Regions from separate parts of the Homo sapiens genome. Here region 2 is linked to region 1. Evidence: promoter capture Hi-C in 16 types of primary human blood cells and fetal thymus (Javierre and others, 2016). All regions are on one chromosome and are shown on one strand. The core of a region is centred on a gene start or on the middle of the fragment in contact, and the rest is flanking DNA. Distances in the headings are between cores, read along the strand shown.

Evidence for each region. The method cuts DNA at HindIII sites, captures the fragments that hold promoters and counts their contacts. A CHiCAGO score of 5 or more calls a contact.
Region 2: a fragment that was not itself captured here is called in contact with the fragment with the promoter of SLIT1 in region 1 in 3 of 17 cell types (M1 macrophages, M0 macrophages and M2 macrophages); the score reaches 7.4 in M1 macrophages.

Annotation. Positions count from the first base shown.
Region 1 is chr10:97,183,491-97,187,818 of GRCh38, reverse strand. It overlaps SLIT1 (slit guidance ligand 1), which reads left to right and starts at 1,860. Exons shown (of 37, transcript NM_003061.3): 1 at 1,860-2,341. The coding sequence starts at 2,145. All of the region lies in intron 11 of ARHGAP19-SLIT1 (ARHGAP19-SLIT1 readthrough (NMD candidate)), which reads left to right. RefSeq lists enhancers at 1,015-1,515, 1,516-2,016. The HindIII fragment of the contact is 4,998 bases long and covers 248-4,328 here.
Region 2 is chr10:97,053,259-97,057,586 of GRCh38, reverse strand. SLIT1 (slit guidance ligand 1) reads left to right here. Exons shown (of 37, transcript NM_003061.3): 12 at 306-377; 13 at 1,123-1,266. Among named protein-coding and RNA genes, the nearest start is that of SLIT1-AS1, 47 kb to the left of the region's middle. The HindIII fragment of the contact is 1,691 bases long and covers 1,565-3,255 here.

The DNA.
Region 1 (4,328 bases), core at 611-3,110:
TACTAAGTGCCAGGTGCTGGGGTGTGTGTCTGGGTGAGCGAGTGAGGATGCCAGGGGGTGGGCAGGGGTGTGGAGAAGCAGCTGCAGGTACTAAGAGGGGATAAACAAAGCAGCGGGCATGGAGGAATGTCACTCTGAGGCTGCGGGGAGAGCATGGATAGAGGGGCTGGGGCCCCATGGAGCAGGAGCTGGTGAGCTGCAGGGCAGGGGCAGCCCTCTCAGACTCCGGCCTGGTTTGTGGGAAGCTTCCCTAATATCCCACCACACAGGCACCCCTGAGAAAGCCCTGCCCCCTGAGAAACTGAACTTATGCTCAAGAACCCACTTACCGGATGGAGGTCATGGACAGGGATGTGTGAAAACTTTAAAAGAACTGTCAAAAGCCCATAAAATCAGCCACCTAAATTGTAACATACTGTGCTATGACAGTAGAGAGACTGCAAAATTCTCATCAACATGGAAAAGAAAAGCAAAGAAAACGCCTGAGCCTTGGGTACCTGGTGGGTGATAAGGCTTCAACCTTGTGGAGTCTATCAACCTCCCCTATCCCCACCCTGCCCGACACTCTCCCCACCAAATGCGTCCATGCTGTGTCTGGACCCAGGCCGCTCCTGAGACGGGAGGTGCTTCTCGGGCTACCCAGCTGTGTCCTCTTGCCAAGCAGCCTCACGTCAAGGCCCCGACTGCTGGACACTGCCCCAGCGAGCCACAGCTGTCCTTGGCGTTGAGGAGATCTTTCGTCTTTTCTGGGGTTGAGGAGAATTCTCTCCCCACCTGGATGTCCCGTTCACACCCACGTCCACACATGCCTTACGGTGACGAAGGTCCCTACCCAGCCGGGTGTGAGGCCTGGGTCTGACGGGGCTGGCCTGTGGGGTTCTCTCCCAAGCAGGCCGCCCAGCGCTATGCCAGCCCTCTCTGTCTCCTTTGATGTCAAGATGGAATATTCATTTTCATCTGTTTCCACCTGTCAGAAATGGAGGAACGCTGGTGTGAGTGGAGGAAGACGTTTGCCAGATTTCCAAGTCCCCTTAATGTCTGTCCCTCTCTTCTACAACGGGGGAAGAAGCCCGTGTAACTGTATGGTACAAATACGCCCTGCTGAGCAAGTGTTCCAATCAGAGCCATTCTCATCCTGGGCATGCGGCTAGCTTGTTCCCCTCTGAGAAGTGGGTGCATTGAGGTAGGAAGGAGACTGTACTCCGCCTAGCGCTTTCGTGGACCCTCCCCCCCGACAAAGCTCCATCCTCAAAGTCCAGGCTAAGTAAGGTTGGTGGCTTGAGGATGCTACCTGGGGCACAGGCACAGGGTTTCCCTTAACCAAGAATTGACACAGCGAGTCGGGTGGGGCCGAGAGGCCGCTGCTGCCGTCGGGGGATGGGGGGAAACGGGTCTGACTCCCCGGGAAGGCGTCCAAGCGGCAAAATAAGATCTCCCTCCCACCCTGGACTAGCAGCTGGGGCCGCGGGTGCCGGGGTGCGTGCGTCTAAATGTGCGCATCCTCGCCGTGTGTGTGTGTGTGTGTGTGTGTGTGTGTGTGTGTGTGTGTGTACAGCCAGGACTTGGCGGGTCGAGTCACACCCCCTTCCCTCTTCTCCCATCCCCCGCAGCCCCGTGCCCGCTGACGGCGCCTCGGAGGTTCCACCTTTGAAACTGTAGGCGGCTTGCAGCCGCTGAGTGGTCGTCGGGAGAGGGGGGCTGCGGCGGGGGAGGGCGGGGAGGAGCCTGGCCCTGGATGTGTGCTTTTCGATTGATGGATGACTGCCGGGTGGGAGCGAGCGCGCGGGTGTGTGTGTGATCGTGTGTGTGTGTGTGGTGTGTGCGCAGGGTGCGTGCGCGCGCGGGGCCTGCCCATTTTCCTCCTCGCAGCAGTCAGTTGGGAGCTGGAGGGAGGGAGAGGGAGACGCAGGCGGCGAAACGGCAGAGGAGCCGAGCCCCCTCCGCCCAAGGCGCCCTCCCTCCGTCCGCGCACAGGCGCCGTCGCTTGGAGGAGCAAGGTGCCTCCCAGCCCGCAGGGGCGCCGCGCGCAAGCCCGCGGGCTCTTCGGTGGCTCTGCCCCGGGACTGCACCTGGAGGCGGCCCCGGACGGGGATGGTCAGCGGCTGCTGCCGTCTGGCTCGCGAGCGGGACGCTGTGAGGGCACCATGGCGCTGACTCCCGGGTGGGGGTCCTCGGCGGGGCCGGTCCGGCCGGAGCTCTGGCTGCTGCTGTGGGCAGCCGCGTGGCGCCTGGGTGCCTCGGCGTGCCCCGCCCTCTGCACCTGCACCGGAACCACGGTGGACTGCCACGGCACGGGGCTGCAGGCCATTCCCAAGAATATACCTCGGAACACCGAGCGCCTGTGAGTATGGTCCCCGCCCCTGGCTCCCTGGCTCCGAGGTTGCCCTCCCACCCAGACGCAATTCCGGACTTGGGGGTGGGGGCAGGACCATTGGGGCCCGTCCGGGCTCCGCAGCCCACAGACGGGTCAGTGCCTGCCGGGGTCTTTCCCGAGCCAGGAGCCAGGAGCGCCGTGGTTTCCCCATCCCTGGGATTCAAAGGGCCCTCGGCGGGGTTGTCAGCTTCCGTCCTCACACCTGCACCCTGCACCCTGCACTCCGCACCCTCAGGCCCTCCTCACTGCGCCAGCGCTTTATTCCTCCAGGGTGCCTGCGAACTGGTGTCAGAAAGCCTTCCTTGCACCCAGGAGGGACACTTCCCACACTCGCCAAGCACAATGTCTCCTTTTGGGCACATGGGGCTACGGCCGCGTTCTGAGCCAGCTGCGCAGATTCCCGCTCCCAGAGCTTGCTCCTGACGAAGGGCAGCAGGGTGGGATGGAGGCGAAGTTTCTGGTCTGCCCCTTCTTCTCCATTGTTTGCCCCAGAGCCTTGAGAATTCTTCCCCTGCAGGTGCCACGCGTTGGTCCCCTACTCACCCGCCTCCCTCCACACCCAGCCATCCCCAACACAGGCAGACAATGGGACCTGAGGGCTTTGGGTATGGGGCTTGGGGTATGTAACATTCAGCACCCGAAAAGGGGCAGGTGTGTCTTGGATGGAGAACCCGGTGGATAATGCCAAGAAGTCAGGAGCTTGGAGAGGGGGGCCCAAGGTTAAAGATATTGACCATGACAAGTAATAAAAAAATAGCATTTCTCTTCCCCTGTTCTGTCTCACTTGTGAATTCTTGAGGAAACTTGATCCTTTTCTTTTCTAGACCCAGTAAGCTAGTAGAATGTGTGTGTGTGTGTTTGGGTGTGTTTGAGTGTGTGTATTTACAGACCTTTATACTTTGTTTTCTGTGACTCTCCTGCAGAATGTGTTTCTGTGTGAATTCCTAGTATTAAGGGGCCACCTTAATAGCGTGAGGCCATGAGAGTCCCCGTAATGGGCTGTGTGTGTGTAGATTTTGGTCACATGCAGGGCCTTTGTACTGCTCGCAGAGGTGACTACACCAGGAGATTTTTGAACAGGGCTTTGGAGAAGGCTGCTGGCTCCTTTGAAACCTACCTACTCCTCCTTCCCACACTCCTCGGTGACTGCAGTGGCTCTCAGGAAAGGTGTGCATATTTTGATAACTTTCGAGCACATTTTCATGGCCCCCAGCTGGTCAGAGACAGAAATCTGACCCTGAGGAGAGCTGTCTCCCGAATCAGACTCTGTACCAAGGCCAGCAATTAGTGAGCACACATTTGCCCCAGACTCTTCTTGGCTGCATCTGAAAAATTCCCGTGGAGGTTTTAGAGAATTTGCAATCTAGATGCAATCTAGATGGGAAGTGTGTGTGTGTGTGTGTGTGTGTGTGTGTGTGTGTGTGTGGTGCATGTGTATGTGTGTGTGTGAATGCTTGTGTGTTACAGGGCTGGGGAGAGGTGGTACCAAACTGAGTTTCTGTGGGCAGCGTGTGCATTATCCTGTGTGGACCCAGAGAGGATCTGAGGGTCAGAAATCTGTCCAGAGGACCCCCGCAGTGGCCTGGTCACCCTCCATGCCTGTCCCCTCTGTACCTGCTCCCTGCTCCCCTTGCCTTGTCCACTGGAGTTTCTCCTGAAGCTGCTACCCTGGTTGCAGCCTAGATCTAAGACACATTAGCCCTTCTTCTTTGCTTTTGAATCTTGAGTCTTAAAGTCATCTCCTCCCTCTTTACTCTCTCACCACCTTTAGTGTTTAAGACTTCCATGAACTCTTTAGCTCTTTTGTGATCAGAGTGAGATGAAAATGAAATTTCCTAGTACAGAGGAAAGAGGTGGCATTCTGGGAGCTATACTGCCTGGTTCCCCAGCTCTGTCACCTATTAGCTGTGTGACCTTGGGCAAGTTACTTAACTTCTCTGAACCTTAGTTGCTT
Region 2 (4,328 bases), core at 1,161-3,660, 130 kb after region 1:
TGCCCCTTTGCAGCCTTCTGTGGGGTCCACGTGTGAGGGCGGTGAAGCAGGAGCTGCTTTGTTAGTGATTGGAGTCAGGGGCATCTCTAGCCCATAGGGCACTTTACGCCAAGAAGCAGGCAACGCTTTCTTAAGACACTTTACTGTCATCTGTGGACAAGTTGCTATAACAAATATACACCATTAGGATGTGCTCCATGTAAATGGCTTAGGGGCAGCGCTGTTGAGCTGGGGCCGTCTGCAGAGTTGTGCTATTGCCCTGGTGGGCTGTCCTCTAACCCTCCTCTCTGCTGCCTTTTCTCCAGGGTCCTCTATGGAAACAAGATCACAGACCTCCCCCGTGGTGTGTTTGGAGGCCTATACACCCTACAGCTCCTGTAAGAACGAATCCTGGGTGTCTTGGGTGGGACCCAGGGAAGGGCCAGCTTTCCTCTGGCCTGCTAGACTGTCCCTTTAGGCCTCTCTTGGGTATGGGACTCAATTGAGACAATGAGCTTGGAAGACAGGCAGACCCACTAGGGCTGAGAAAGTCTCCAGGGCTCTGCAGAGGCTAGAGAAGGAGGTAGAGGCAGCTTCAGAGCTGCTCACAGGATGCCAAAGCAGAGAGGCTCCTGAGACTCGGCCCGTGCTCCTGAGGAGCTTGGTGTGGCTGGGGACAGAGCTTTCTCCTGCAGGGGGGACACCCAGGCCAGCTCGGCCTCCTTGAACCATGAACTTTCAGGCAGGGATTGTCTCCCAGGGCTCAAGAGGCATAGAACACAAATGCTCCAACTCAGCTGCCTGGGGAACCCAATGGACCTCTGGGAAGGAGGAGGAGCCCCCCCCAAAAATGCCTTCACAAGGTGGCTCTCTGCTTTCCCGGAATCCCACAGGGCATCTCTAGCAGTTCTTGGAAAGAGAGACGAGTGGGTTGACCAAGATGTCCCTATGCATGGAGGAGGCAGTCGGAGTTCCGGGCCCCTCTCCGTGGGGCAGACATCCAGAGGGCAGATTCCCTGGGCCTGCTCCGATGGGCTCCTCCCTGTAATAACGCAGGCCGGGACTGAAGAAGGTGCCCAGGACCTGAGATGGGTCTCAGGTCGAGCCTCTCTCCTCACCACTTGGTCCTGGCTCTGCCCACAGGCTCCTGAATGCCAACAAGATCAACTGCATCCGGCCCGATGCCTTCCAGGACCTGCAGAACCTCTCACTGCTCTCCCTGTATGACAACAAGATCCAGAGCCTCGCCAAGGGCACTTTCACCTCCCTGCGGGCCATCCAGACTCTGTGAGTGCCCTGATGCCTTCTTCTTCTCCCCTCCCAGCAGGTGGGCCTGGGGGAGGTTGCAGCCTCCAGGGACAGGCAGCTCTCCGGCTCTGGGCTGCTGTGCTCACTGGGGGTGGCCTCTTACAGAGGAAGGACACAGACCTGGGTTAGACCGTCCTAGGTTCAAAGTCCACCTAGGCCTCTTATTGGCTGTGTGATTCTGGGCAGCTTCTCTGGGCCTCATTTTTATTTATCCGTAAGATGGGGATGCCTTCCCATAGGGTTGTTATGAGATTAAGGAGGATGTTTGTATGAAGCTTAGCTCATCACAAGTGCTTGATAAATGCTGCCTTTAGCTAACAATAATATTGATGGTGATGATGATGATAATATATCGCGCTGATTCTAAGACACATGTTGTTTCCACGTTAACAGCTCTGAAACTGGGATGCATGTTATAATCAGTGGTACATCACTTAGTTGGCAGCATTTTGTTCTTTATTGATAGTACAAAAAATAGTAGTGCCTCTTACAATTCATAATGTCAAATCAGATGAAATACGGTAATGACAATGGTGACTGTGAATAAAAAAATTAGAGAGCAATAAATCTGGTAATTTGTTGTAATATTTTATTGTGGAAAATTATAAGCAGATTAAGAGTAGTACTGTGGGCCGGGCATGGTGGCTCATGCCTCTAATCCCAACACTCTGGGAGGCTGAGGCAGGAGGATTGCTTGAGCCCAGGAGTTCAATACCAGCCTAGGTAACAGGGCTGGGCACCCCATCTCCACAAGAAATTTTTTTTTAAAAAGTAGCCAGGTATGATGGCACATACCTGTAGTCCCAGCTACCTGGGAGGCTAAAGTAGGATGATTGCTTGAGCCCAGGAGGTTCAGGCTACAGTGACATGTGGCCACACCCCCTGCACTCCCACCTGGGCAACGGAGAGACCCTGTTTCAAAAAAAAACAGAGTGCTATGTATGGTGAACCCCCAAGTTTTCATCACCCAGCTTCCAATCCTGTATAATTAATTCCTTAATATCATTGAGTATCTAGTTAGTGTTGAAATTTCCAAGTGTCTCTTACATGTTATGCAATTTTTTTGATTGTTTTTTGTTTTTTGAGCTGGAGTGTCGCTCTGTCACCTAGGCTGGAGTGCAATGGCACAGTCTCAGCTCACTGCAACCTCCACCTCCCAGGTTCAAGTGATTCTCCTGCCTCAGCCTCTGAAGTAGCTGGGATTACAGGCGCCCGTCACCACGCCTGGCTAATTTTTTGTATCTTTAATGGAGATGGGGTTTCACCATGTTGGCCAGACTGGTCTCAAACTCCTGACCTCGTGATCCACCTGCCTCGGCCTCCCAAAGTGCTGGGATTACAGATGTTAGCCACCACGCCCGGAATGTTATGCAATTTTTTAATAGTTTGAATCAGGATTTAAATAAAGCCTGTGCAATATAACTGGCTGATGTTGGTTTATGTTGGTTGATGTACCTCTTAAGTTGCTGTTTATCTATGTGTCCTCTCCATTTCTCTTTTCCTTGTAACTGATTTGTTGAAGACACTGCATCATTGGTTCTGTAGGGTCTAGACTTTGTTGATTGCTTCCCTGTGGTGTAGTTTCACATGTTCCTCTGTCTTCTCTGTATCCTGCAGATTGAAAATTGGATCTAGGAGCTCGGTCAGGTTCAGTTTTGATTGATTTATTTGGCAAGATGATTTTATAGATGGGATTGTGGACTTCCCGTCAGAAGGCAGACAGATGTCTGGCTGTCTCCCTTTTGTAATAAAAACAGCCATTGATCTCAGTGCTTGAACCCATTAATTCATTAGCAATCCTGAAATGGTGATTTTGAATTTGTATCAGTCTGTTTTTGTGTTACTATCAAGGAATACCAGAGACTAGGTAATCTATAAAGAAAAGAGGTTTACTTGGCTGACAGTTCCATGGGGTGTACACATACGGCACCAACATCTGCTTGGCTTCTGGTGAGGCCTCAGGAAGCTTACAATCATGGCAGAAGGCGAAGCAAGGGTAGGCACGTCACGTGACAAGAGGAGGAGCAAGAGAGGGAGGGGGAGTGCCATGCTCTTTTAAATAATCAGATCTTGCATGAGCTCAGAGTAAGAACTCACTCATTATCACAAGGGCAGCACCAAGCCATTCATGAGGGATCCACTCTTATGCCTAGTCTTGCTTCGCCTTCTGCCACGATTGTAAGCTTCCTGAGGCTCACCAGAAGCCGAGCGGTTGTTGGTGCCATACTCGTCCAGCCCACAGAACTCTCAGCCCAGTAAACCTCTTTTCTTTATAAATTACCTAGTCTCAGGTATTCCTTTATAGAAACACAAAAGCAGACTGATACAAATTCGACCAAACACCGAACACCGATCCGAACACCTCCCATCAGGCCCCGCCTCCAACACTGGGGATTACATTTCAACATGAGGTTTGGTGGGGACGAACATCCAAACCATATCAGAATTCTAACATTCTTTTTTCATTTCTAATGCAGTTGTGACTATGCTTTAAAACAGAATCCTTATATTTAACTGGAATGTTTCCACGTAAGGAAAATTCTCATCTGTTGTGTGGTTAAACTTAGGCAATTAAATGGTCCCCTTCATCTACATCTTTAATTCTGAGCCTGCAGTTAGGCAGGATGTGCTGACTTGTGGGTTCTGTGGTGTGCATTTAATGAGCATTAATTATTAATATTATTGTGTCCATTGTTGTCGCTGTAATCCCTGCCCCTGTCTATGCCAGGCAGTGCTCTTCATCAGATAACATCTACATGGGGTATTGGGATAGGTTCCAAACAGGCTGAGTAAAAGGTACAGCTCGTGACCCCTGGGGACTCTGCACATCACCAGAGATGTCAGCCACAAAGACAAACTCATTAAAGCCCACAAATTTGCCTGCAGCCCAACTCCTCCCAATTAATTTACTTATAGCCAGGGAGACAAAGAGGAAGCCCCATGGGGAAACCTTGCCAAGTATGTGAAATTAGAGGGTACAGGGAGACACTGGCAAGGTGGACTATTTTAAGCAGCTGGCAGAATGTCTGAGAGAAACATGC